Regions from separate parts of the Homo sapiens genome. Here region 1 is linked to region 2. Evidence: promoter capture Hi-C in 16 types of primary human blood cells and fetal thymus (Javierre and others, 2016). All regions are on one chromosome and are shown on one strand. Each heading gives the region's core, a stretch centred on a gene start or on the middle of the fragment in contact. The rest is flanking DNA. Distances are from core to core; before and after follow the strand shown. Region 1 overlaps LINC01965 (long intergenic non-protein coding RNA 1965). Region 2 holds the start of POU3F3 (POU class 3 homeobox 3).

Evidence for each region. The method cuts DNA at HindIII sites, captures the fragments that hold promoters and counts their contacts. A CHiCAGO score of 5 or more calls a contact.
Region 1: a fragment that was not itself captured here is called in contact with the fragment with the promoter of POU3F3 in region 2 in 1 of 17 cell types (megakaryocytes); the score reaches 5.6 in megakaryocytes.

What each region holds. Positions count from the first base shown.
Region 1 is chr2:103,947,577-103,952,865 of GRCh38, forward strand. The region is part of intron 1 of LINC01965 (long intergenic non-protein coding RNA 1965); the gene reads left to right. Among named protein-coding and RNA genes, the nearest start is that of LINC01965, 76 kb to the left of the region's middle. The HindIII fragment of the contact is 8,352 bases long and covers 1-5,289 here.
Region 2 is chr2:104,852,271-104,857,474 of GRCh38, forward strand. It overlaps POU3F3 (POU class 3 homeobox 3), which reads left to right and starts at 1,845. Exons shown (of 1, transcript NM_006236.3): 1 at 1,845-5,204. The coding sequence starts at 3,241. The coding sequence ends at 4,743. It also overlaps a transcript of PANTR1 not described here. RefSeq lists a silencer at 191-240 and an enhancer at 1,449-2,038. The HindIII fragment of the contact is 8,766 bases long and covers 1-5,204 here.

The DNA.
Region 1 (5,289 bases), core at 2,376-4,875, 900 kb before region 2:
CTAGCTTTAAATCACCATAAAATTTGTATATAAAGTATTATGTATAAAGCACATTTCTTTTACACATACATAAATGCATGCATTCACATACACATGCACAATGAAATAACACCAAAATCAGTCAAATAACTTCTGCAGGTATACACAGCCAGGTGATGGAAGAGAAATGGTGGTGGACTCAAATATGCTATACGTTTCCAAATAGTTCTTCAGAAAAGTATTTGTACACAGCTTTTTTATATAGGATAATTGAGAATGAACAAACTTATTTTTATACTATTTATATAACATTGTCATAGAATCAGTATTATGAAGAATCCGAAGCTGAGAGATGCTAATGCTTACACTCTTTTACATTATCACACATTACCTAAAACTTCGGAGTTGTAGTCTGAGGATAGCACACATGTTTGCTAAAGCCTTAGATAACATTAGTCTTCTAGGTACCAGTCATTTTGTATTTGCATAAGTAGCTACTTTGCTACTTATTACAATTAGAAGATATCTAATTGAGACATAGAAAATCTATGAACAAATGATAGCACGATGTTTTTTAATGCTGAAATCACCAAAGAACATATAGCTTTTGTTTGAAGAAAATATGCATTGACATTAGCATGGTGCCTGCCTATTGGTGGGGATTGAATACATGGGACTTACAGCACAAGAGTTTGTGGTGATTATGGTAATGAGGGTAACGGGTAAAGTTGAAATTAAGTTTATCCTTGAAGTAATCTATTTGCAGGAGAATAAGTTTTGTTCTCTCCCAGAAAATCAGGTGTTGGGGCAATAAAAGGATAAGGAGACTGAAACTGACCTTTAGTTTCCAGTTATATTTTGGTTTAATTTTACATGTTTCTCATTTGTGTGTCTGTATGTTCTTGATGAAAGAAAACATTAAGTCAGTGTAGTTTTAGAACACCTTAAGTTATTGTTATAACTACACAGTAATATATAGATATTTAAGACCAAAAGCAAAATTTCATGAAGTATTCCATTAAATTTGTTAATGTCCCCTATGTGGAAAGACATAAATAGAGTTTTAGTAGTTATGTTTAACTATATTGACTCCCTTGAGAATCCATCCACAATGGTCACCCCAATCTGTTCCCAAATCATTAAGCCAGTTATGCAAACATCAAGATTGTGTATAATTTGCAGATCCAAGAAGAGGATACTTTTTTTCTCTCTTCTTCTTTTTTTCCTTATTCCTCAGCCATCCTTCCTTCTATCTCCTCTATATTTTCTTTTGCATTGTCCTATTTTCCTCCATTTTACAATGTATGTGACTCTCCCTCTTCCTCTGGCTTTATCATTGTACAGGTCATAGTAGCCATTCATCTACCCCCAAATGCCAGAGAAGGTGAAACATACCCAGAGTGTGTAACTAGGATCTCTGTGCAAGGGCCAGATTTACAAGGCATAGACAGAAGGCTCCCAGACACTCTCCTGCTACTGTCTATCTTCTTTTTGCTTGTTGTTCTTGGATTCCTGGATTTTCTTTTAAATTATTGGTATTACTATCTATAGTGTTAAAAATGCTATAGTATATAATACACGCTAGCCTAGTTTGTATAGTCATTATTTACAGTTATGGGTTTTTGAGTCACAGACCTGGATGAATTTCTGAGTTCTCCTATTTACTAACTATATGAACTTTGCCGAGTTACCTAAATTCTGTAAATAGCTTATAGAGTTAATTAAACTAAAAAATGACATGTAACAATGGTATGTAGCCCATAGGCTTATTTTCATGGTGCTAAGTGTTGAAAACTTTGTTAAGTGTAGTTCGTGGACCTAATAATAGAACCTTCCCTTCAAAGATGTCCATGTCCTAATCCCCAGAACCAGTGAATACCTTACCTCACATAGAAAAAAACACTTCTAAAAGAAGACATTTATGCAGCCAAAAAACACGTGAAAAAATGCTCACCATCACTGGCCATCAGAGAAATGCAAATCAAAACCACAATGAGATACCATCTCACACCAGTTAGAATGGCAATCATTAAAAAGTCAGGAAACAACAGGTGCTGGAGAGGATGTGGAGAAATAGGAACACTTTTACACTGTTGGTGGGACTGTAAACTAGTTCAACCATTGTGGAAGTCAGTGTGGAGATTCCTTAGGGATCTAGAACTAGAAATACCATTTGGCCCAGCCATCCCATTACTGGGTATATACCCAAAGGACTATAAATCACGCTGCTATAAAGACACATGCACAAGTATGTTTATTGCGGCACTATTCACAATAGCAAAGACTTGGAACCAACCCGAATGTCCAACAATGATAGACTGGATTAAGAAAATGTGGCACATATACACCATGGAATACTATGCAGCCATAAAAAATGATGAGTTCATGTCCTTTATAGGGACATGGATGAAATTGGAAATCATCATTCTCAGTAAACTATCGCAAGGACAAAAAACCAAACACCGCATGTTCTCACTCATAGGTGGGAATTGAACAACGAGAACACATGGACACAGGAAGGGGAACATCACACTCTGGGGACTGTTGTGGGGTGGGGGGAGGGGGAAGGGATAGCACTAGGAGATATACCTAATGCTAGATGACGAGTTAATGGGTGCAGCACACCAGCATGGCACATGTATACATATGTAACTAACCTGCATATTGTGCACATGTACCCTAAAACTTAAAGTATAATAATAATACAATAAAATAAAGAAAAAAAAAAAACAGAAAAAAAGACTTCTCCCACGTGATTCAGTTAAAAATCTTGAGATGAAGAGGTTATCCCAGATTATTCAAATTGACCCAATGTGATCACAAGGATCCTAATAAGAGCACTGTGTAAGGGCCAAAGCCATAAAGAGAAGAGAAGTGGCAAAGGGAGCAGAAGCTGGAGTGATACACTTTGTAATGGAGGAAGGGGTCACTAGCCAAGGAATGTGAATGGCTTATAGAACTGGAAAAGGCAAGGAAATAGAATGGTCTCTAGAGATTCCACAATGAATGAAGCTCCCTAAACCCATGATTTTAGCCCATAAGACCCATTTCAGACTTCTGTTCTCCAGAACAGTAAGATAATATATTTAAAGTGTTTTAAGCCACTGAGTCCACAGTAATTTGTTATGGTGGCAACAGGGCACTAATACAATTCAAACATTCAGGACTCTGGAAGAAAGACTATAAGTAGAATGGCTGTCATCATTCTCTCCTTTCCCTTTCTATTTGTTGTTCACCATCTAAGCCTGGTTATTTATCTCCTTACCTACTTGCCTAAGGGAGAAATGGTGAGCAAAGGTGGAATAGACTGAGGGAGAACAAAAACAATATTTCATTTAGGTAGAGAATAGATTCTACAGTTGTCTTCATCTAAGAGAAGAGAAAAGAAATTAGAGACTTGAAATCAATAAATACATCATGAAAATAATGTTTATAAAAACAAAAGCAAGACATCCTTTGTTTTATTTTGTCATTACAAGATATCTAAACCTCACTCATTCCTCAACTCAACACAACCAGGGTTCTACCCGACCACTTCAACTGAAAAAATGTTCTTGCCAACATCTAATAAATGTCATTTCTAAATCTGAAATTATCTTCTTTCTCAACCCTAAAATGACATCAAACAAAATTGTACAAGACAAACAAGAAATAAATAACCTTGTCTCTGTCCTGTATTCACAATTTTGGAAAATTTAATTACCCTCAAAGTATAAGCCTTAGTATTTTCATCAACCATTTCCTCTCACCTCTCTTCAGGGTATTTTATCAGAGATATGTATCTTGAGTCTATTCCCCCCTCATTTTCCTCATCACTTCTTGCTTTAATATTTGCATTAAATATTTCCCTGGGACTGGCAGATGGCAATCTCTGCTTCCCTCACTTTAGCGACACTGTTGTCACACTTATCCATCCAAAACACAAATTTGACTGTGTTTAAAAATGTGGATGATGAAAATGGTTGTTTAAACATGAGCAGCATAGGAAGAACAACCATGTGATAAGTAACAGGTGCTGGCAGTAAACCAGGTGGGGATGGCAGAGCAGGGAAAGTTGAGGCACAGGGATGGTGTCAATGAATGAGTTGGATATGGGGGAGAGATTATTTAAGTGTATTTTGGACAAGAGAAGCAGGTTCTTCACTGTTTGAAAAGGGAGGTACATATAAGAGTGAAAACTAAAATGTATCCTAGAATGTTGAATTGATAGAGATATCAATATTAATTCATTATTTTTGATATAAACAAATAGATTTAGATGTATAGATATAGATATACACGTGTTTATGTCTATACATGTATTTCTATCCAGTGGCAAGACCTGGAAGAAGAGTCACCCCAGTGTTAATGGGGTGACACTCCTAATATCTTATGTTAAGAGTGTCACCCTAATATATAGGGGTAACTCTCCTAGCACCTAGGTATTGACTTCTAAATATGATGCTACTGGCCAGGGCTCCTTGGGGAAATGACTACATCGAGTGCTGAGGCAGAACAGGTGAAACATTAACTTGGAACATCTTACTGTGTCCCTAAGCAAAGCAGTGTCCCAAAGATGATTGTGACTTGTCAAATTCACAAGATAAAAACCCTTTTGAAAAGCCTGTTGCTGGTCAAATAGGGTGCAATTTGATTATCAAAATAAATAATGATCATAATAGGTTATAATCCTTTGATTAAATTAGGAATTGATTAGGCCATCTGGATATAAACAGATAGACATTTCAATAAGGAGATGTTTATATGGTATCCAAATATCTTCCAACAAAATACTTATTAAATTACATTGGGAAAAAGAGTTATTCTGCATTGAAGACATCTGGGAGAAACCACCTTAATCAGGTGATAAAAGACAACATCAGTATTATGGGAACAAATTGAAATTGGGTGCCACCTGATTGGATGCAACAAAAAGGACACTTGATCTCTTCTGCCAAAGTTGTACAACCTGGATCTAAACCTGAAGAAACATTAGACAAAGGCAAGTTGAGGACATTCTACAAAATAACTGGCCCAACATGTGTGATTGTGTCAATTTCATGATAATCAAGGAAAGGGTGAGAAAATATTCCACACTGAACAAAACTGAAAAGCATGACAACTGAATGCAGCACACGTTTTTGGACTCGAGCCCTTTGTTAAAAGAAACATTTTGGGGACCACCGGCAAAACTTGAATGGGGCCTACCAATTAAATACTAATATCATATCAATGTTACTTTCCTGATGTTGACGACAATATTATAGTTAGGCAGAAGAATGTCCTTATTTATAGTGAATATGCACTAAAATATTCGTTGGTAATGAGGCA
Region 2 (5,204 bases), core at 595-3,094:
GCAGGAGCTGGACAAGAGCCTACATAAATTCTACGCGTCTAGTGTTAATCTTGAGATCACGCGGGGGCTGCCTGGCTGCGGCTGGGCAGGAGAACTCCTGCTTTCACTGAGTTCACTTAACTGCGCTCGGCAGAGGCACGATACAGCGGGAGAGAAGGGCAGGCCCGTTCACATTTTAATCGGAGCGCACCGGCGGCCGCTCCTCGGCTGCGTCCTGGGCTGCCGCTCGGGCTCGGGACTGCCAGATGCAGGCTCTGGCTGGGGGCGGCGGGCGCAAGCGGGCGCACCCGCAGCTAGGGGTGCGGGGTGCACGCACACGCACGCTCATTAAGAGCCATGTATTTATTGAATGTCCGAGTTGGGTTAGTTCATTGGAAATCCCCGAGGAGGGCTCAATTTGCCCTTGTTTTCGTTGCCACTTTCTCTTTTTTCTTGGTTCGCTGAGGTTCCTCTGTGCAGCGTTTCCGCTTGGCCGCGTCCCCCCACCCCACCCCACCCCACCCCCGCTTCTCTCGCCTACCGGGTGCACTCCCCCTCCCATCCCCCTTAACTCTTTCAGCTGGGTTAGAGCTGAGAAAGCATTTGTCGCCGCCAGCCCCATCCACCACGCAAATCCATCTGAGACAGAAAGGAAAGAAAAAAAAGCACCACCATGCCTAAGAATAGAGAGCGAGCAAACCCCCCCACCGCTAATCACACACACACACACACACACACACACACACACACACGAGGAAGCGGTGGAGCAGAGAAGGGCGCGGCTAGCCGATCCCGGTTCTTTCGCCCGGCTCCTGCTGCCACAGGGAATTCCTAAAGCCATTGGGGTCGAATACACTTACGATGAATCTATGGGGGAAGGTCGGACTGATTGCTTTTCAAATACATCGCACGGCTCCGCTGACCGGCACCCTCCAAACTCACAAGGGCACGCACGCTACTTGCACGAATCCCAGAGGAGGGAGGAGGGAGGAAGGGAGGGAGAGCGAAGGAGGGAGAGAGGGGGTGGAGGAGCCAGGGAGCGGCGGCAGCGAGCGGTCCGTCTCGCACGCGCGGGCACCGCGCTGGTCCTGGGCTGCAGGTTTCCCAGATGATGGCATCCGAGAACTTAAACAAAGGGGGCTGCCGCCGGCGCGCAACGGCTGCGGAAAGTTGCGGTGGCGGATTTCCAAGGAGCGTGGCCACGACCAGAGCTCTTGGCGATGCGAGCCCCCGCTTCCCACCCCCGCCGATCAGAGAAGGGGGCCGGCTGGTGAAGGGAAGAGGAAACTTTGAAACCACTGGGGACACATCTGTCTATAGGTATTAGCTTGAATGGTACATCCGTGCCGCGCGCTTTACAAATCTCTGGCGGGGCGGGGGTAAGGGGGTGAGCAACCCGACGCGTACTAGGTGGGGTGGGCAGGTTGCTATTTTTCATGTTTCCCCCTTCGTTTTCCTTCTGATTCTCTTCCCCCCTCTCGTCCCTCCCTCCCTTTTATCTCCCCTTTCTTCCCCCCGCCCAGACCTATTGCGAACGCCCAGAGCCGCCGAGGGAACGCCAACGTCTGGGCCGGACACTAAGAGTTAAGATGTGGCGGAGGGGGCGGCGGGGGAGGGGCGGGGAGGGGAAAGTGGTGAGGGGGAGGGAGGCTGGAGGACGACAGATTTCCAGCTTCTACGACGCTCTGCCTAAATTAAAAAGCAACCAATCGGAACGGCCGGAAGGGGGGCCTCGCGTCCTGAGCCAGTCATTCCGAGCCTGCCAATCACCCAGCGGGTAGCCAATCAGCGGGGGCCCTGGTGCTCGACTTCCTTGTATTTGGGAAAGTGTGGTGGTGGGTGCGCGCTCGCGGCGGAGGGTAAACATTCGACAGTCCCCGCTCTGAGAGGGAGGGACAGAGAGCGAACTGTCAGATCGGAGCGAGAGCGGGCGCCCGAGAGAGGGAGAGAGAGAGAGGGAGGGAGAGGAAAAGTGAGAGAGGGAAAGAGAGCGCGAACGAGGGCGCAGAGCGAGCTCCTGCTGCAACTCTGCTCCAGCACGGCCAGCGCCAGCGCCCGCCGTCGGTGCACTCTACGAGCCGTGCAGCGTGCCCACTGGAGTTGTTGTGTATCAAGGATCGATCCCCTATATGCACACACACACCTCCACCTCCACCAATGCACTCTTCTTCCTCCTCCTTCTCCAGACAACTGCTGGGAAAAAAATAAAACACCAACCCCAACCGTCAGCAACAAGGTAACAGAGCGATTCGACATCATTTTTTTTCCTGTTCAATTTTTTCCTTGTTATATTTGTTTCCTAATTTCTGCCCAAAAGGAAAGATGTCGCATCAGACTGTGACTGTTGCGAGGAGAATGAAAAAGGACTCTTGTTTCAGAGGCAACCAAGAGCTCCGGCAATAGCAACTTCAGAGAAATGCACCATCGCAAGAAGTTTTCCTAGGACAGAACAAAACTTGAAACGAGAGGACCAGAGGGGGAGAGCAGGAGCCAGCCTCCCCTCTCCGCACTCGCGAGCAGCCAGCAGCACCACGCCTTCAAGGACGAAAAAGTTTTACTACTCTAAGGGAAAACGAGTGAAATGTGTTCCTGAGGAGGAGAGGAGAGGAGAGGAGAGAGCGGACAAGAGAAGGAGCGGGCCGGTTGCTGGTCATCCGTAATTTGGCTAAGGAAGAAAGGAGCAGCTTCTTTCTTTGTTATCTCCCGTGAAACCTTCACTTAGCAGGTGGACGGAGCCCCGCGACCGGGCAGAGTCCGGGCTCGCCCGAGGACAGGAGGAGGAGCGGGAGCCCGCGCGTCCCGGGAGAGCGCCCCGAGTGCAGGTCCCCGCCCCGCCCGGCGAGCCCCGCTGGAGCGAGCCCAGCGCGCCGGGGCTGGGGGGCGGCCACGACCCCCCCTGAAGGGGGTGGCCACGGAGCGCACCCCGAGAAGCGAGCCCCCCTCCCCAGAGCGCTGCTCCTGCGGCTGCTGCTGCTGCTGGTGACCAAGGCCGGCCGGCGACCCCCGCGCCCTGCCGAGCGGCCTTGCAGCTGCAGCCGGGGGCCGCGGCGGCGGCGGCGGCGGCGGGGGCGGAGGCGGCGGCGGAGGAGGAGGCGGCGAAGGCGGCGGGGCCGGCGGGGGCCCGGGGCGGGGGCGGGGAAGGAGGGGGGGAGGAGGCGGGAGGCGGGGGGCGCGGCGGCGGCGGCGGCGGCGGCGGCCGCGGCTGCTGCTGCGGCGGCGGCGGCGGTGGTGGCGGCGGTGGGGTGGCGGGAGCGGAGCGGCATGGCCACGGCGGCTTCTAACCCCTACCTGCCGGGGAACAGCCTGCTCGCGGCCGGCTCTATTGTGCACTCGGACGCGGCAGGGGCTGGCGGCGGCGGGGGTGGCGGCGGCGGCGGCGGCGGGGGCGGCGCAGGGGGCGGGGGCGGCGGCATGCAGCCGGGCAGCGCCGCCGTGACCTCGGGCGCCTACCGGGGGGACCCGTCCTCTGTCAAGATGGTCCAGAGCGACTTCATGCAGGGGGCCATGGCCGCCAGCAACGGCGGCCATATGCTGAGCCACGCGCACCAGTGGGTCACAGCCCTGCCCCACGCCGCCGCCGCCGCCGCCGCTGCCGCCGCCGCCGCCGTGGAGGCGAGCTCGCCGTGGTCGGGCAGCGCCGTGGGCATGGCTGGCAGCCCCCAGCAGCCACCGCAGCCGCCGCCGCCACCGCCGCAGGGCCCCGACGTGAAGGGCGGCGCCGGGCGCGACGACCTGCACGCGGGCACAGCGCTGCACCACCGCGGGCCGCCGCACCTCGGACCCCCGCCGCCGCCCCCACACCAGGGCCACCCTGGGGGCTGGGGGGCGGCCGCCGCTGCCGCAGCCGCAGCCGCCGCCGCCGCCGCCGCCGCGCACCTCCCGTCCATGGCCGGGGGCCAGCAGCCGCCGCCGCAGAGTCTGCTCTACTCGCAGCCCGGAGGCTTCACGGTGAACGGCATGCTGAGCGCGCCACCGGGGCCCGGCGGCGGCGGCGGCGGCGCGGGCGGTGGAGCCCAGAGCTTGGTGCACCCGGGGCTGGTGCGCGGGGACACGCCAGAGCTGGCCGAGCACCACCACCACCACCACCACCACGCGCATCCTCACCCGCCGCACCCGCACCACGCGCAGGGACCCCCGCACCACGGCGGCGGCGGCGGCGGCGCGGGGCCTGGACTCAACAGCCACGACCCGCACTCGGACGAGGACACGCCGACGTCGGACGACCTGGAGCAGTTCGCCAAGCAGTTCAAGCAGCGGCGCATCAAGCTGGGCTTCACGCAGGCCGACGTGGGGTTGGCGCTGGGCACACTCTACGGCAACGTGTTCTCGCAGACCACCATCTGCCGCTTCGAGGCCCTGCAGCTGAGCTTCAAGAACATGTGCAAGCTCAAGCCGCTGCTGAACAAGTGGCTGGAGGAGGCGGACTCAAGCACCGGCAGCCCCACAAGCATCGACAAGATCGCGGCGCAGGGCCGCAAGCGCAAGAAGCGGACCTCTATCGAGGTGAGCGTCAAGGGCGCGCTGGAGAGCCACTTCCTCAAGTGCCCCAAGCCCTCCGCGCAGGAGATCACCAACCTGGCCGACAGCCTGCAGCTCGAGAAGGAGGTGGTGCGGGTCTGGTTCTGCAATCGGCGCCAAAAGGAGAAGCGCATGACGCCGCCCGGGATCCAACAGCAGACGCCCGACGACGTCTACTCGCAGGTGGGCACCGTGAGCGCCGACACGCCGCCGCCTCACCACGGGCTGCAGACGAGCGTTCAGTGAAGCCAGGGCGCAGAGCGAAGAGGGCCGCCGCCGCCGCCGCCTCCGCAGCCGCCGTCAGCACCGCCGCCGCCCCTGCCGCCGCCGCCGCCGCCGCCGCCGCCGCTGCCGCCGCCGCGCCGACCCTGCACCTGGGCCGCTCCGGGCTCCAGCCCAGGCCCATCCGCCGCCCTCCCCTCCACCCAGAGACAGGCATGCCCGCCCTTGGAGGAGAAAACGCGGGAGAAACGGACCAAGGAGGCATTTTTGCAGTCCAAGGAAGGAGGGGCCAAAAAATAAAAAGCATAATAAACACCCAGACTGTTTTGTATACATATATAACAAACAAAACCGGAAGAGAAAAAGGGGGCGATCATGAGATCTCGTTCATACTGTGGTGGTGTTTCGTTTTTGTTTTTGTTTTTAAAGAAGGGTGAAGATGCCTGACGCACGAAAACTGCACTCGTGAGGTTTTTCCACCCTGA